Regions from separate parts of the Homo sapiens genome. Here all the other regions are linked to region 1. Evidence: promoter capture Hi-C in human tissues and cell types (Jung and others, 2019). All regions are on one chromosome and are shown on one strand. The core of a region is centred on a gene start or on the middle of the fragment in contact, and the rest is flanking DNA. Distances in the headings are between cores, read along the strand shown.

What was found. The method cuts DNA at HindIII sites, captures the fragments that hold promoters and counts their contacts. A contact is called where the count stands out against the background at its distance.
Region 2: a fragment that was not itself captured here is called in contact with the fragment with the promoter of CCDC122 in region 1 in 1 of the 25 tissues and cell types used here (dorsolateral prefrontal cortex).
Region 3: a contact is called between a fragment that was not itself captured here and the fragment with the promoter of CCDC122 in region 1, in 2 of the 25 tissues and cell types used here (dorsolateral prefrontal cortex and lymphoblastoid cells).
Region 4: a fragment that was not itself captured here is called in contact with the fragment with the promoter of CCDC122 in region 1 in 1 of the 25 tissues and cell types used here (stomach).
Region 5: a contact is called between a fragment that was not itself captured here and the fragment with the promoter of CCDC122 in region 1, in 1 of the 25 tissues and cell types used here (dorsolateral prefrontal cortex).

The regions. Positions count from the first base shown.
Region 1 is chr13:43,878,126-43,881,223 of GRCh38, forward strand. CCDC122 (coiled-coil domain containing 122) reads right to left here and starts at 1,615. Exons shown (of 7, transcript NM_144974.5): 1 at 1,506-1,615. LACC1 (laccase domain containing 1) reads left to right here and starts at 1,779. Exons shown (of 7, transcript NM_153218.4): 1 at 1,779-1,994; 2 at 2,827-3,098. The coding sequence starts at 2,861. RefSeq lists a silencer at 1,517-1,666. The HindIII fragment of the contact is 6,836 bases long and covers 1-3,098 here.
Region 2 is chr13:42,878,791-42,881,888 of GRCh38, forward strand. No RefSeq gene overlaps it. Among named protein-coding and RNA genes, the nearest start is that of LINC00428, 7.6 kb to the left of the region's middle. The HindIII fragment of the contact is 3,282 bases long and covers 1-3,052 here.
Region 3 is chr13:43,135,897-43,138,994 of GRCh38, forward strand. All of the region lies in intron 1 of LINC00400 (long intergenic non-protein coding RNA 400), which reads left to right. Among named protein-coding and RNA genes, the nearest start is that of LINC00400, 24 kb to the left of the region's middle. The HindIII fragment of the contact is 5,587 bases long and covers 1-3,098 here.
Region 4 is chr13:43,297,230-43,300,327 of GRCh38, forward strand. It overlaps ENOX1 (ecto-NOX disulfide-thiol exchanger 1), which reads right to left. Exons shown (of 17, transcript NM_001347969.2): 12 at 1,117-1,301. Among named protein-coding and RNA genes, the nearest start is that of ENOX1-AS2, 150 kb to the right of the region's middle. The HindIII fragment of the contact is 4,025 bases long and covers 1-3,098 here.
Region 5 is chr13:43,317,708-43,320,805 of GRCh38, forward strand. All of the region lies in intron 11 of ENOX1 (ecto-NOX disulfide-thiol exchanger 1), which reads right to left. Among named protein-coding and RNA genes, the nearest start is that of ENOX1-AS2, 130 kb to the right of the region's middle. The HindIII fragment of the contact is 4,463 bases long and covers 1-3,098 here.

The DNA.
Region 1 (3,098 bases), core at 365-2,864:
GCATGAAAGAATACGAATCCCACCATTGTAAAAACAGAGATAAATGTTTAAAACCTTTGTAACTAAAAGACCTCTGTTTTGCTTGAGGTATTAAGCTGGTGCAAAAGTAATTGTGGTCTTTGTCAATGGCAAAAACCGCAATTACCTTTGCACCAATCTAATGATATTTAACATAAACAAACTCAGGGCAGAGTGCACCTTCTGATTGGGTGTACCATCTACCGCTCGGGGCTCTTTAACAAATGACCAAAGAAAACATGAATTTTGACATAACTGGTGCTAGGGTTATTGAAGGGTGGGTTTCCATTCTGGGTTAGTGCTCCCAGTCTCTAGTCAAGCACAAGAACATGCCTACCCCAGAGGGCTCTTCCAAATTCCCAGCTATCTGAGATTATGAGACAAAGGTTCTTTAGCGCCTACCAAATGAGCAACAATGAAGATAAAAGGGACCTCTCCTTCCATCATAACCAGTTCCCCAGGAAGCACCATTTCTCTTACTCTTGGAAGGTCGGATATTTTTTCCCTTTACCATACACTGGCCTTCCATGTCCTAACTGCTATTTTCAAATAAATGAACGTTATATTCTTGGAGGACAGATCAGGGATGCTAAACTGCACCTTTATCATGATTTTAGGGATGAGCGCCTTTTACTTAAGTCCTGCTAGTGGCACATATTTTAAAAGGCCATAGAGGACATCCGTGTTGTCAACACAAGTGAAGGCGCTCGGAAGAGTGTTGGTCAGCAAGAATCAGCACAAAGACATTGGAGGAGAGACAACAGCTTGTTTCTGGAAACAAATGAACAACAAAAAAACACTAAAACATCTCGAGGGGGCCCCTGACTTGAGCCCTGCATGGGAAAAGCTGCCAAGAGCTAGCATGACAAGGGACTGGCCCTGGGCTGCGGTGAGGAAACCCAGCGTCCTGACCACACTGCTGGGTCAGCGAGGCGTCCCTCAGAGACCGGAAACGCGGACTTCAGCTCGCTTGGGAAACGGCTTCCATTAGCAGAAGGGAGACTGCGGTTTAGTCCCGAGGTCGCTCCAGCAGCCCGGCCTCACGCGACCCACCATTCCCGCCGCCCCCTCACGGTGCCCGCCGTTCCCGCCGCCCGGCTTTCTAACCGGGCCCCTAGTTCCCCGCCCCGTGCCCTCTGGAGACCTGCAGCTCCTGCCGCCCTGCGCCCGCTCCCAGGGCCCGTCGTTCCGCCGCCCTATCCCTCCTCAAGGGGCCCCTAGCTGCCTCCTCGCGACCCTTTCCGGACTCGGCCTGCCCACTCCTGCCCGCTAACCCGCCTGGCTCCCGGGCGAGAGCCCTCGCGCGGCTCTGGTTCCTGTTCCTCTAACGCCGCCGGGGCTGCGGGATGCCGACTCCGCGGACCGCCCAGACCCGGAACTGCTGAGGCAGCAGCGGGCTCGCGGCGCTTGGCTCATCCCGGGATTCCCCAGCTCTCGCGCTGGGCCCGCCGCGTTCGCACCAAGCACGCCAGGCGGCCCTGGCCTACCTCCCTCCCGCCTCCCGGCAGCTGGCACGAGGGAACCTGGCCGTCAGGTTTCCCCTGGGATCCTGGGACGGTATCAGGCGGGGAATCTGTGCGGCCGCGGCGAGGTAGGTGAGGTGAGGCGGGGCGAGGTGGGCGAGGGGGGCGAGGTGAGGCGGGGCGAGGCGGGGCGAGGCGAGGCGGGGCGAGGTGGGCGAGGTGGGCGAGGTGAGGCGGGGCGGGTGTCGTCGCGCTGGGCCGAGCTTACGACTCCAGCTGACCCGCTCGCGGCTGCCCAATTTCGTTGAGGCTCAGGACGAGGGACGGGGCGGCAAATTGTCACAGAGGTCGCCGTAGACCGGTGTGCAACCGAAGGTGAAGAGCGGGAAGGCGAGGACCGAATCGCCTCTGGTGTGCGTTGTCCGACAGGAAGTCCCGAATGGGCTGTGAGCCGCCGGTGGAGGTGCCCGGGCAGGTGCAGAGCCACAGCCTGCGCCCCGTGAGCCGAGGCGGGTAGGAGGAACAGGGACCTGGCGGCGACACACGTTGGGCGGAAATTCACAATGAACAGGGAAGGGGGGACGGTCACCCACTCAAAACTGGCTAAATGAACCTCAGAGGGAGCCCCGAGAGATGGGGAGCAAAGGTTAGGGGAAGCGGCAGGAGAAAACCTTCTTGGGGCAAAGGGCGTCACCAAAGGGGGTCACCGGAGCCCCGCAGGTTGGGGTGGGAGGGCTGGGCTGGAGGTGAGCAAAGCTGCACGGGGAGAATGAATTAAGAAAGTTGAGAGGAAGCCTGTCTCATCCAAATCACTATAGCTTTTGTGGTCATTGCTAAGTGTGGAGTACTGCGCAAATCCTGAAGGGAACTCTATTAGCCATCTCAGCTTTTATCATCTTAAAACGCGAATTTCGCGTGCAGCTCCATTTAGCTTCGTAAACTTAAGCCCCCGCATATGAAAGGATGAGACCTAATATGACAATCATGTCAGGACTAATGATATATCACACAGGTTGACACTCTGCAATTTAAAAACAGGACTTTGTCTAAACTCCACAAGTAATTCCTTACTCAAAAGTTCTGTGTAAACAAAACAGAGGAACTGTCGTGCTGCTGGAAAGATGTACCAGCATTTTCACAAAACGAATTAAAAGATGGCTTTGCTTTCACTGTCATGGTTCTGTTGTGACAGAGTAGACTGGCTTTTCTGGGAGGGGCCTAGATTTACTATTTTAGTTACATTTTAAAATCAGTGTAATTACTTCGTTTTTAATCTACCACAAATTTCTGTTGTAACTATAAGATTTATATAATCTTATATTCTTACACTAATTTTTATTTGCAGGTGATTTATTTGGCATAAAAGTATTCTTTCAAGGATGGCAGAAGCTGTTTTGATTGATCTTTTTGGTTTGAAATTGAACTCTCAAAAAAACTGCCATCAGACATTACTGAAGACTTTGAATGCTGTCCAATACCACCATGCTGCCAAGGCCAAGTTTCTCTGTATAATGTGTTGCAGTAACATCAGCTATGAAAGGGATGGAGAACAAGATAATTGTGAAATAGAAACAAGCAATGGATTATCAGCTCTCTTGGAAGAATTTGAGATTGTTA
Region 2 (3,098 bases), core at 162-2,661, 1.0 Mb before region 1:
CTCTACATGTACATTTAGTTATGCATTGGGTAATGGTTAAAATAGATACCTAGGGTGCTTTCCAAAACTGGATTCTACAGTTCCTAGGTCACGGACTTGGCTTGTCTCCAGTTGGCCTGCTTTTATAACCACCCAGTGGGTTTTTCTTGTCCACTGCCCAGATAGAGCTAATTTATGAAGGCAGGGGAATTGCAATAGAGAAAGAATTTTACACACATAGAGCCAGCTAAACAGGACACAGGAATTTATTATTACTCAAATTGGTCTCCTCAAAAATTCGAAGGCTAGGGTTTTTCAAGGATAAAGAGACGGGGGCACAGCTAGGCAATGGGTGCTTGCTGCTGATTGGTGGGGGTACAATCATAAAAGTGTGGGAAATGGTCCTCATGCACTGAGTCACTTCTGGGTGGGGTCACAGGAGCAACTAGTGGGTCCAGGTGGAGCCATCAGTGTCAGACATACAAAAAACTTGAAAAGACATCTCAAAAGCCAATCTTAGGTTCTAAAATAGTGATGTTGTCTGCAGGAGTAATTGGGAAGTAGCATATCTTGTGACCTCCGGAATAATGGCTGGCCATCGTTTATGCCTACACCTTAGCAGAATTCAGGCTCCTATCCTCCTACTAGTCTGGTGGTTTCTCATTAGCTTTGCAAAGGTGGTTAAGCTTGCGAGGAGGGTATTATCATTTATTTTTATTTCTTTATTTTTTATGTATTTATTTTTTTTGAGACAGTCTCCATCTGTCGCCCAGGCTGGAGTGCAGTGGCGTGATTTTGGCTCACTGCAACCTCTGCCTTCCGGGTTCACGCCATTCTCCTGCCTCAGCCTCCTGAGTAGCTGGGACTACAGGCGCCCAGCACCACGCCCGGCTAATTTTTGGTATTTTTAGTAGAGTCAGCGTTTCACCGTGTTAGCCAGGATGGTCTCCATCTCCTGACCTCGGGATCCGCCCACCTCGTCCTCCCAAAGTGCTGGGATTACAGGCGTGAGCCACCGTGCCCGGCAATTTAACCTATAAACTAAATGTCTCCCAAAGCTAGGTAGACCCAAGCCAAGGGATAATTAAGGGCAGTTTGAAGGCTAAAGGCAAGATGGGGGTTGGTTAAATCAGATCTCTTTCACTGCCATAATTTTCTCACTGTTACAATTTTTGCAAGGGAGGTTTCACTTTTCTCTCCTCCTCCACCTCCAAAGCTCCCTCCTCTTAAGTAGGGAGAATTCATTCGCACGTTTTTCAGAGCTCTGCACTGTAATTCATTCAGATCCAGACATTTCGGCTCATTTACAGCGGATGCATGCTCTCGCATAATCTCTACACCCATCTTGGGCTTCAATTTTCTCTTAACAATGTTCGTTCTACCCTTTTCAGTCCAAAGATCACTCTCCTTGACAGAGAAGACAGGACTAAATGGGAGGAAAGGAGTTCTGTTTTCTTCATGTCATCCATCAACATCACACCACTGGCCTCAGGCAGCGAGCCTCTTCCTTCCTTATTCTTGCTCTAAATTTAAGAGCCCTCCATTATCCTTACTTTCTTTTCTCTAAGCCTCAGCTCACTCTGGTCTTTGGCCCTTCTGATCTGTTACTGGTCCCTGCCTTTCTTCAACACAATCTTTGGCAGCGTGCCTCTTTCCACTTTTTGGCACATCTTTTTAAAATCCGAGTTTCTCAGTGGGAGTGTGCAGCCACCTTGGCTCCGAATGTCTTTTCCTTTTGTCTGCAGCATGAACAACATGTGTGATTGCAAAGATAGAATTATAATTTTGAAAGCTTACCAATTCTTTTGAGTTTCCTCTTGAGAAATAGAATTAAAACAATCTTTTCTTGAATTCATTAAAACCTGCCTTCTCCAATTGTTGAGTACCTGTCTTAGCATTCCAAGCCTCCTCCCTGCTTGGCTAGCACAAACCTTAAAACGACACACGCACTTCCTCAAAAGATTCCTTTATACCATAGAAGTGAAGTGCAGGAGGCAAAAAGATCCAATGGTTTTTTCTGACAATAGTCTCTGTAAAACATCACAAGAAACCAATTAAAGAGGATGGTAGTGAGCCTGAAATAAAAGGGAAAGTTGCTAAAGATATTGTGGTGGTAGAATTGATAATCCCTGCCAATGAATTATGCAGGGATAATTATGAGAAGGAAGGAAGACTGTTGAGGCCTGTAAGTATACATGGCCAGGTGATCTAGAAAATGGTGATAAGGTAGGAAGAAAGAAGGACCAACATTTTTAGTAATAAAGAAAGGAGTTGAGAAAGTATCTTTTCATTTAAAACTAATATAGTATTTCCCTTGCTACTCTCCTACCTTGCATTCCCATTTACCTTTTAAGAGCATTTATCCCATCAGTTTGTCTACAACCTATCCTGTGAGGTAAGGTGGAGATAAGAGATTTGTCCAAGGTTTCAACATTAGTGAATGGCAGAGCTACATTCTCATATCTTCCAGAAATCCCGTGGTTCCCCTTTCTTTTCCAAAATGCTATGGCTCATGGCATTGCTAACCATCTGCAGGGATTAAAGGACAGGCATTGCCTGTAAAGGGGCAAAGCCAGCCCTTTGGTTTGCATCAGCAGCTGCTGTTGGCGGGGTTTAGGTTTATTCATAACTGATTAGCTTAATATGATATCCTTATCCCAAGAATCTTTCTATCCTTGATTATCACACCTGGGGTTGGCCAATTAACTGGGACAAATTCCAAAACATTGAGAGAAGCTCTCTTCCAGGGTGTTTCTCCTCTCCTATATCTTGTCTCCCACTTCCAAGCAACAACCACACTAGTCTCTCTCTCTCTCTCTCTCTCCCTCTCCCTCTCTCTGTGTGTGTGTGTGTGTGTGTGTGTGTGTGTGTGTGTTCCGAGGTGAGCAGGCCTATACAAACCTACTTCCAAAGGCCAGGGAAGGTGAGGAGCTGAAGAAAGAAGCTGACAAGTCCAGATTCTCAGAATGAAATAATAGGGATTTATGAACAGAAGCCATATCTCAAGCAGCTGCGAATGGTGGATCCCTACAGTACACTGTTACCCCACAGACCCAGGGCTTACAAATCATAGGGAATTTGCCTAAGGGGAAGATATATGTGTTTACGATAACATCAAG
Region 3 (3,098 bases), core at 299-2,798, 740 kb before region 1:
TTCACGCCTGTAATCCCAGCACTTTGGGAGGCCAAGGCGGGTGGATCACCTGAGGTCAGGAGTTTGAGACCAGCCTGGTCAACGTGGTGAAACCCCGTCTCTACTAAAAAGACAAAAATTAGCCAGGCGTAATGGCGGGTGCCTGTAATCCCAGCTACTTGGGAGGCTGAGGCAGGAGAATTGCTTGAACCTAGGAGGTGGAGGTTGCAGTGAGCTTAGATTGCGCCACTGCACTCCAGCCTGGGTGACAAGAGCGAAACTCCGACTCAAAAAAAAGAAAAAAGAATGTCCTATGAAGCCAGGCACAGTGGCTCATGCCTGTAATCCCAGCACTTTGGGAGGCTGAGGCGGGTGGATCGCTTGAGGTTGGGAGTTCGAGACCAGCCTGGCCAACATGGTAAAACCCCAACTCTACTAAAAAATACAAAGAATTAGCTGGGCATGGTAGCGGGAGCCTATAGTCCCAGCTGGTAGGGAGGCTGAGGCAGGAGAATCGCTTGAACCCAGAAGGTGGAGGTTGCAGTGAGCCAAGATCGCGCCATCGCACTCCAGCCTGGGCAACAAGAGTGAAACTCAGTCTCAAAAAAAAAAAAAAAAAAAAAGAATGTCCTATGAAATATTTGGCACATAAATACAGGATGCCCAGGTAAATTTAAATTTCACATAAACTATGTACAGTTTATTTTATTTATTTTATTTTATTTTTTTGAGACAAGGTCTCTCTCTGTCACCCAGGCTGGAGTGCAGTGGCACGATCTCGGCTCACTGCAACCTCCACCTCCTGGGTTCAAGCGATTCTCTTGCCTCAGCCTCCTGAGCAGCTGGGACTACAGGTGCATGCCACCACACCCAGCTAATTTTTGCATTTTTAGTAGAGATGGGGTTTCACCATGTTGGCCAGGCTGGTCTTGAACTCTTGACTTCAAGTGATCCGCCCACCTCAGCCTCCCAAAGTGCTGGGATTACAGGCATGAGCCACCGCACCCAGCCAAACAATGTGCAATTTTTAAGTATAATTACATCTTGCAATATTTGGGATGTAGTTATGCTAAAAAAAATTCATCACTCATTTGAAATTCAAATTTAACTGGACATGCTGTATTTTTATTTGCTAAGTCTGGCCATCAGTATGTGATGCTGAATAAATGCTACTTACCAGTGCTGTGAACTCCAGGGCAGAGCTCCCTCCTGTTACACTAACTAGCCTGGAGAGTTCCGCCACCAGAGAGCCAATTTCTCGGCCGCCTTTGGGTGCTGACTCAGCTCTCTGATGACCCAAGTTTATGAGTTACCTGTGAGAATATCTGGGCCCCCAGTTTTCTCAAGAGTCAGCCCCAGATCCCCAATTCTGCCTCTCAAAATCGAGGAATAGGAGCCCTGGCTTTTTCCAGCAGCAGCTGGAATCAATAAGCAGCCCTGATGTGTGGGGTGGGCTGGAACACAGCCTGCTACCTTGAGCCCTGCAGTATTGATCGCACAGGCAGCTGTCTGTAAACCAAGCAGGCATGCTGAAATGGGGTAGTGTTGTCAGCCTTCACTTTCATAGGGATGACTCTTCAGATTTCTCTCAAAGCCTGTCGGGCTCAAAGGGAAAACCAGCAAGTTCTTTTTTTTCACTAATGTAATGCCTTGGGGAGCTGCCGCATTACATTCTTTTTTTCTTTTTTCTTTTTTAGTGCAAAGTTGTGGGGGTGGAAGGCAGAAACCACAACAATCCTCTCTCTTTTGGGACTCTCTCTCTTAAATGTGGTCCATCATTCAGTTTTAATAACTGAAGCACAAAATATGAAAACTAAAAAAAGTCATTTTTTATCGAAAGCCTCAAATGTACTGGGCATGAGAGCGAGCAGTTTGTATGTCTTGTGGTGTTTTATGCTTCTAATGATTCTCTGAGATTGATATTTATTACTATTCCCATTTTACAGATTCAGAAATGGAGGCTCACCCAGGCTAAGTAATTTGCTCAGGGCCGTGCGTCCCGCAGTGAGTCTGCTATGGTCGAAACCCAGGTCTGTTTGACATCTAACACTACTGTCTGCTCAATGAGCCCAAGACATTGCAAACACTGCTGGCTTGTCATCCTAGCTTGTCCTTTTAGATTCCTGAGTGATGAACATCCTCTGAGAAACTGTCCCTGGTTGCTCTGAAAAAAGCCGGGTACCTCCCTCTGCTCTCAGATGACTTTCTTCCCACCTGTGTGTTGTAGAACCTCCCTGTGGGGCTGTAAAAACACATCCACCTTTCTGTGTCCTCATTAATCCACAAGGTCCTCCAGGGCAGCGGCAAAATTGTTTTTCTACCAAGTGTGCTCCTCTCTAGCTGCAGGGACTAGACTATCGTTTAGCACACAAGCTCTATAAATATCTGCTCGTGGTTATTACTGTTTTGAAATCTCTTTTCCCATTTGTTTAGGGAGCTTCAAGGATGCTGTCCTGTCACCATGTTTCATTGTGATGCCGGTCTTCTGCGTTCTTACCTATGTTTTTTACACCGAATTTTGTATTGGCCTGTCCTCATTGAGGACTCATCTGGCTGGTCCATACCAATATTAACAGAAAGTTCTTCCATGGTTGAATGACTGAACAAGTATGGTTGCCATGATGACTATATTTGCACAAATCCAAGTTGGTCTTCTCAATGGTTCTTCCTATAATTTGGTAGAAGGGTATAGAGGTAAATGAACCCAATGGGTAGCCAAATTCCTGCACCTGGGATCTCAAGGTCAATGTTTTTTTTTATCACAGTGATATAGGGTGTCTCTTGGAGACTCAAGAGAAAGAGGGTTGTCAATGAGAGAGGGTAAAAGATGACAGAGTGGCTTTGATCCTACCTTCTCACAAAAGCTTCTTAGAAAAGTCAACCTACTTTTGAGAGGAGCACAGGTTCTCACAAAACCCCTTCCAGGAAGTAGAGAAGCAAACTTTGCCATGATTCTGCTACCAGGAGTAAACATGTGATCCCACATGTACTCTGCCCCTTCAGGGATGAAAGAGCTATGAAGCTGATGGTTGATCCTCAGGGACAGACATTGGCTGAGAGGACTTGATGGATTTCAGATCTGCCCACCTGAAGCCCAAACGCTGAGGAAGTCTCTAAAT
Region 4 (3,098 bases), core at 322-2,821, 580 kb before region 1:
CTCAATTATTTTTCCCTGTTAGGTTGATGTATCTGTAGTAGTTACCTCTAATCACTAAGATACTTCTGTAGGCAATCCATGCTCTGGATGTTACAGAGCAGTCAATATGGATGGGGGAATTAAAAAAAATTGACTCTATATATTTTAACTTTCCATCATTCTACTTATATTTCCCTTGTTTAAATAAAAACAATCTTTTTTTTTTCAGAAAATATTGATTGGATTTGTATATTCAGAGGGATAATTTAAAAATACCCATGATGATAATATATGCTCTGTTATTCTAAGGTAACTCAAAGGCCCAAACACCTTAAGAATATCAGGTACCAATTGACGTTTTCAGATACAAATCTGACTGTGAATCTTTGACTCTATTCCCTCACTGCCAACAGTCAGATTTTCCCCTCCTGTCGACATTTTATATCCCACAGTACCTGTTCCTTTTCCCTACTCCAAAGCCCTCAACTTTCATTTCCTTTTTAACAATTGCCATAAATATACATCTTTAAATTCAGTATGCCAGGATGAGGTCTGGCACTCTTCAACAAAAACACAGCTATTGCCCTGTTTCTAAAGTTATTTATCCCCCAAAACTCTGATGCTTCATGTATTCCATCAACAAACACTTCTTAAACACGTAATGTGCTCAAAGAACCTGACTAGATCCTAAGTGTAATACAGAAAAAGTGGAAACAATATAATTTACATTTACACTAACCTTGAAGACAGACAAACAAACTGCTTTTGTAAAATCAGTTGTCGTGCTTTGAAGTTAAAAGTTCTAAGATTACAAAATGCTTGTATCATGCAGGGATCTGCTAGGTATTTGCCATGGGGCTATATTTCACATGCAGCCTTTCAATCTCCTAAATCCAAATCATTTTCCTTTATTTCCTACCTCCAGGGTGATTTCTTCAACATATTTTATTGGCTTGGCTTTTCTCCAGATTCTACCCTTCCACAAACAGTCATTAGCACTTTTCTGTCCTAGTAACATAGCTTTTTGGTTGTCATTTCTTCTCCTTCACCCTTTCCAGCACACGGCTGCCTTTCCATTTTCATTTAATACACATATCTCTTTCTCTCAAAAAAAAAAAAAAAATCTGGGCCAGGTACCTGCTGCATGCCTTGCATGGTTTGCTGCAGAAACTGCAGTTGCTGGTCCTTGGTGAGGTTTTCTTCTGTTCGGAAAAGCTGTTCTTTTTCTTGTTTCAGCAGCTCCACCTCATTCCTGTAGGCATCCAGCTGCCAGCGGAGACTGTCATTCTCCTCTTTCAGAGCGTAGGCCTGGGCAGCCAGGGCTGAGGGACAAACAGAACGAGTTCAGGTGAGCTACCTTCTTGCTTAGCTTGAGGAGGCCTTCTGTGGGAAAGGGAGTCTGTCACCCAAGTTCTTAATGTTTGTACCAGCTCAGAAATAAAAGCAAAATGCCACTCCCTGGGCCTCTCTTTTGTAGTCGGTATGCATCACTTCTCTCGGAACTTTTATCTATTCTGTTTGTCCTGTCTTACATGTGAATGTTTCTTATGGGCACAGGATTAATTCCTCCCAAATTCTCATCCCTTGACCTCTCCCTCAATGCTAGACACCCTCACAGACATTGGTATGTGGTGCTAGGTGGTGACAACATTTAGAATTCCAGGCAACAATCATATCTACTAAATATTGTCTTCCCCCTTTCTACGGGATTGCTTAGCTACTTGGAGGGCTGCTTGCTTTCAAATAATCAGCAGTTCCACAGGTTGAGACATGCGGCAGCATCCCAGGGGAGAGAGGAAATTATATGCACACCACTCCTTCCTGCTCTACTGCTGGGACAAATTGCACAGATTGTTTTCCTCCAACTCCTATCAGAATGGGAAGCTAGTTCCATCTGTTTCACCAACAGATTAAAACTCTTTTCCTCTACAAGGCTGAGTGGTTACTCTAATACCTCTCCCTGAAACCCCAAATTCTCCACATTTAGATTCAGACTTCATTCATATGTCTATCTTATTAAGAAACCAAGACAGTTAACTCAGGGTCTCACACATCTCAAGGCTTCAGAAATAGCCGAAACTGAAAAAGAAACAAATGGTACCAAACAAAGATTGAGGGTAGGGAAATCCCTTTCCCTAGTTTCTACCTTATTGCTTAGGGGTCTCTCCGAAAATCAACATAGCCTGCTGAGCACTCATAAAGCACTGGATCAAGAGCTTTGTATGAACTCACTCACTTCATACCCCCACCAAGCCTGTGATGCCGGTGCTGGTCTTATGCTCATCTTTACAGATGAGAAAAATGTGGCACAGAGAAGTTATGTAACTCATCCAATCCCACAAAGTAAGTAGCAGAAAGCCTTCACACCCAGGCTGCAGGCTCCAGAGTCTCTGCTCTCGATTACCATCGGTCCATGTGTTTAGTTCTTACCAGGCTGTTCAAAACCAGTCTCACATTCCCCCACCAACTCTCCCACCACTCTCCCTTTAATCTTCCCCCTCACAGAAAAGCCATTCCCCACTTGTGTAAGCAAGAGAAAAGTGAAAGAAAATTTGAAACGCTTGTTACCAGAAACTTCAAACATGTAACTTCCAGTAGATAAGGGCACGGTGTGGAGCCCACTGCACACCAGGTCGTCAGTGCATGCGCGTTTCCAGCCCCCGCTCCCCGTGTCAGAGGACCAAATCAAGGTCGCCTCCTGAGTGTTCTACCTGCACATTACAGTTCCATGGTGATAAAGCTTTACTGAGGTTCTCTGAGACCACAGTGAATTCTCTCCTCAAATATCAAATGTCAAATTATGTTAATAATAGTTTTATAGTTGAGTGTTTTACAGTACTCCATCTTGCAAAATGATAATCTCTGTGTAGTACACACTGAACTACTAATCAGACAGAACATGCAATTACCCAGAAATTTCCCTACCTCAAGCCAGTAGGGATCAATTACTTAACACGCATTTACTTCATATTTACTGTGCTCAGGTCCGTGAGGGCATCTCAGACCACAAAAAGAGGAGACAGAATACATCTCTTCTCTCAAAGAGCTTAATCTAGTAGAAACTGACACATTTAAAAAGAAACTATTGCTTTCAAAGGAAGAAAGGATAGTGTGATGTC
Region 5 (3,098 bases), core at 212-2,711, 560 kb before region 1:
AAAAAAAAAAATTCCGGGCCAGGCGTGGTGGCTCATGCCTGTAATCCCAACACTTTGGGAGGCCGAGGTGAGCGGCTCACTAAGTCAGGAGATCGAGACCATCCTGGCTAACACGGTGAAACCCCGTCTCTACTAAAAATACAAAAAATTAGCCAGGCGTGGTGGCGGGTGCCTGTAGTCCTAGCTACTCGGGAGGCTGAGGCAGGAGAATGGCGTGAACCCGGGAGGCAGAGCTCGCAGTGAGCCAAGATCATGCCACTGCACTCCAGCCTGGGTGACAGAGCAAGACTCCGTCTCAAAAAAAAAAAAAATTCCTTTGTACCTATGTTATGGTGAATTTTCATGAAAAATTGACAGCTCAGAAAAACACTCTTCATAATTTAGAGTGTCTGCTCCTATAAGGAGCTCAGAGTTTAAATGAAATGCAGTTAAAATCCAAAAACATTTGTTTGTGTATTATGGAAAGGCATAATGATTGTCTACTGAGCAAGGGACTTTTTAGTTTTACTCTTCTAACATTTGTGTTCAAAGTACACTCATCAAATATTGGGTGAGGTACATACACTATGTAGTGATGTTCATTTTGGTTTATAATAAATTTAATTTACCAGCTTTAGGACATCCCTAATATTTTTAACTGAAAACACTTTTTTCAAATGAGTCTTACACCCTAGAGAACTGGGTACCCTGTATCTAACTAACTCTGTGTGCCCTGGGTCCACAGCACCTTGGACATACAAAATGTAGATAATCAAAACAGTGCTGGGTTAAAGCTCTCTGGGCCATGGCCTGTTCGCCATGTGACACTGAATTTTGTACGTATAAAGTTCTGAACATTTTGTTTGAACATGCCTCTTTAATACTTGCCATTTCAATTTAATTAGAGCAAATGTTCTCAGGGTTATCATCCTCCTATCAACTTCTGGGACAAAGGCATCGAAAACATTAAGATCAGAAGAAGGGGAATATGAATTGAAGTCCACAGACTTTTATTGATTACGTACTTGGGGAAAGGCCCAGGGCCACGTGTTGGAGGATGACTAAGATAACAAGCAGAGTTAACATTTATTGAGTACTTACTAGATGCTCAACACTGTAAGTAAAGTCAGAAGTGCCTTGCATGCATTGACTTATTAACTCTCACAATACTAAAACGTATCGGGTTTTGCCATCTGAGGCCTTACAATCTAGGACAGCCTTCCTCTTTCCTTTCTCCTTTTTATTTCTTGCGAACGCTATCCCGCCCCACAGAGTCAACCTGGAGGGAGAGAGGGAGGAAGGGAGTGGAAAAGGGTAAGGGAGAAGGAGAGAGGGAGAGAGAGGGAGGGAGGAAGAGAGAGAGAAAGAGAAAAAGGAAGAACAGATCTGGATTTTAAAGTCTGGCTTCATTTCAGTAGGAGGCAGACTAAACAACAATAAATTTGAATTTTTATCAAAAATTATCTTCACAGGCTTCAGAGCAGGATGCCGATCTTCTAGAATGAATGCTTCAATAAATCTGTCATTATTTTTGAATTTATTAACAAAATTGATTTTCATTTTTATCAGCATCTTAGTTTTGCTCCAGTGAACTCCTTTTCCCCTTTAAGATTCAACTGATCAAGAAGAGTGAACACCCCACCCAGAATTCTATTGTAGATACTGCAGAATTATAGCCAAAGACATATTGCAAATTATTATATATGGTAAAAAGAAAAGTACAATGAAATATTCTTCATAACCAAAAAGCAGAGATATATTGAAACATTTTGATTATTTTTTAAAAAGTAAACCCAAGGTATCATATAAGTCCTTACACAATAAATTGTGCCTTTCCTAAAAACCAAACAAGTCAATTATTTCCATCTCTTCCCTGCCCCCCAAAATAAAACCCATTACAGGGTACTTTTTGTCTTAGTATGGAGATGACAAGCAAAGCTGGCCCTGGGGGACCACAGACAGAGCGCCCTGCAGTGGGTGCAGCCTCAGCACCTCCTCCCGGCACAGGCAGGTGACAACTGAAGGATATTCTCTTCTGGAATTTCCAAGAATTCCTGGGTCAGCTACTACCCAGGAGGTCTGAAGCAAAATCCCACTGTTTAAGCAGAGAGGAAATTGGCAGGGGATTCCTTACAGCATGGAGAATTTCACTTCCATTACAGCACTGGCAATTCCCCTGTTAGTGAATTAGAGTGCTACATTTTGAGAGGACTGCTCCTATGTAGGTGACTGGCAGATGCAAATGTGTACCTAAAAACAAGGGATGTGTCACCCAAGAAGATACCGCTGGAAGGTGTTTCCCTCGGGCTATGGCCTCCATCCTCCTGCTTCAAGCAACAGTTAGCAGGGATTTGTCTGAGGTTTGAACAAAAGACCAGATGGGAATTCTTGCTGTCAGGCTGTGTCCCCAAATATGCAGGGCTGAAAGAAAAACAACTGCCTGCCTTTGGGCCAGATCTTCAGGGCCCCGTGGAATAAAAAAGGTTAGTTGCCTTCCTTTCCCTTTAATCAGTCCTGTGCTTTCTTCAGAAACCACATGCCACATTCTCTGGTCCATCTCGTTTTGAAAAGCACGAAAAGACTTTGAACTGCTCGGGGCCTGGCATTTGAACTCCGGTTCTTTCATCTCTTCCCTCAGAACTTGGCATACAACATGCCCTGCACTTTGCTCATTAATTCTGCTGACCAAGTAACAAGACTGGTGAAAGTTTTTTTTAAAAGTTCAGGCTCTACTTCACGTTCTCATCAGATGCCTGGGGAATAAACCGAGAGAGGTGTCGGGGGATCACATCTCCGTCGATGCTTCTGCAGCAGAGGCCGGGCCCCGATCCTATAAGCATGTACGTGCCGCAAGACCTCAGTGAGCATACTATTCAGAGTCATCATTATTCTGGTCCTATCCTAAGCAGACTATGAAATTATACACAATTCTTACTTGGGAAATTGACAAGTTATTTAAAAAGAAACATCACCAAGACAAAACAAAAAGCCACAGGTTCAAATGAGAATTTCTGACTGATGCAGTTCTTTTCTCCTACACCTACCTTGTCAGGATATTAAGAATCCAAGTTTCATGTCAACTTGCCTCTCATCCAGAAGCTTCACAAAGGATGAAAGCG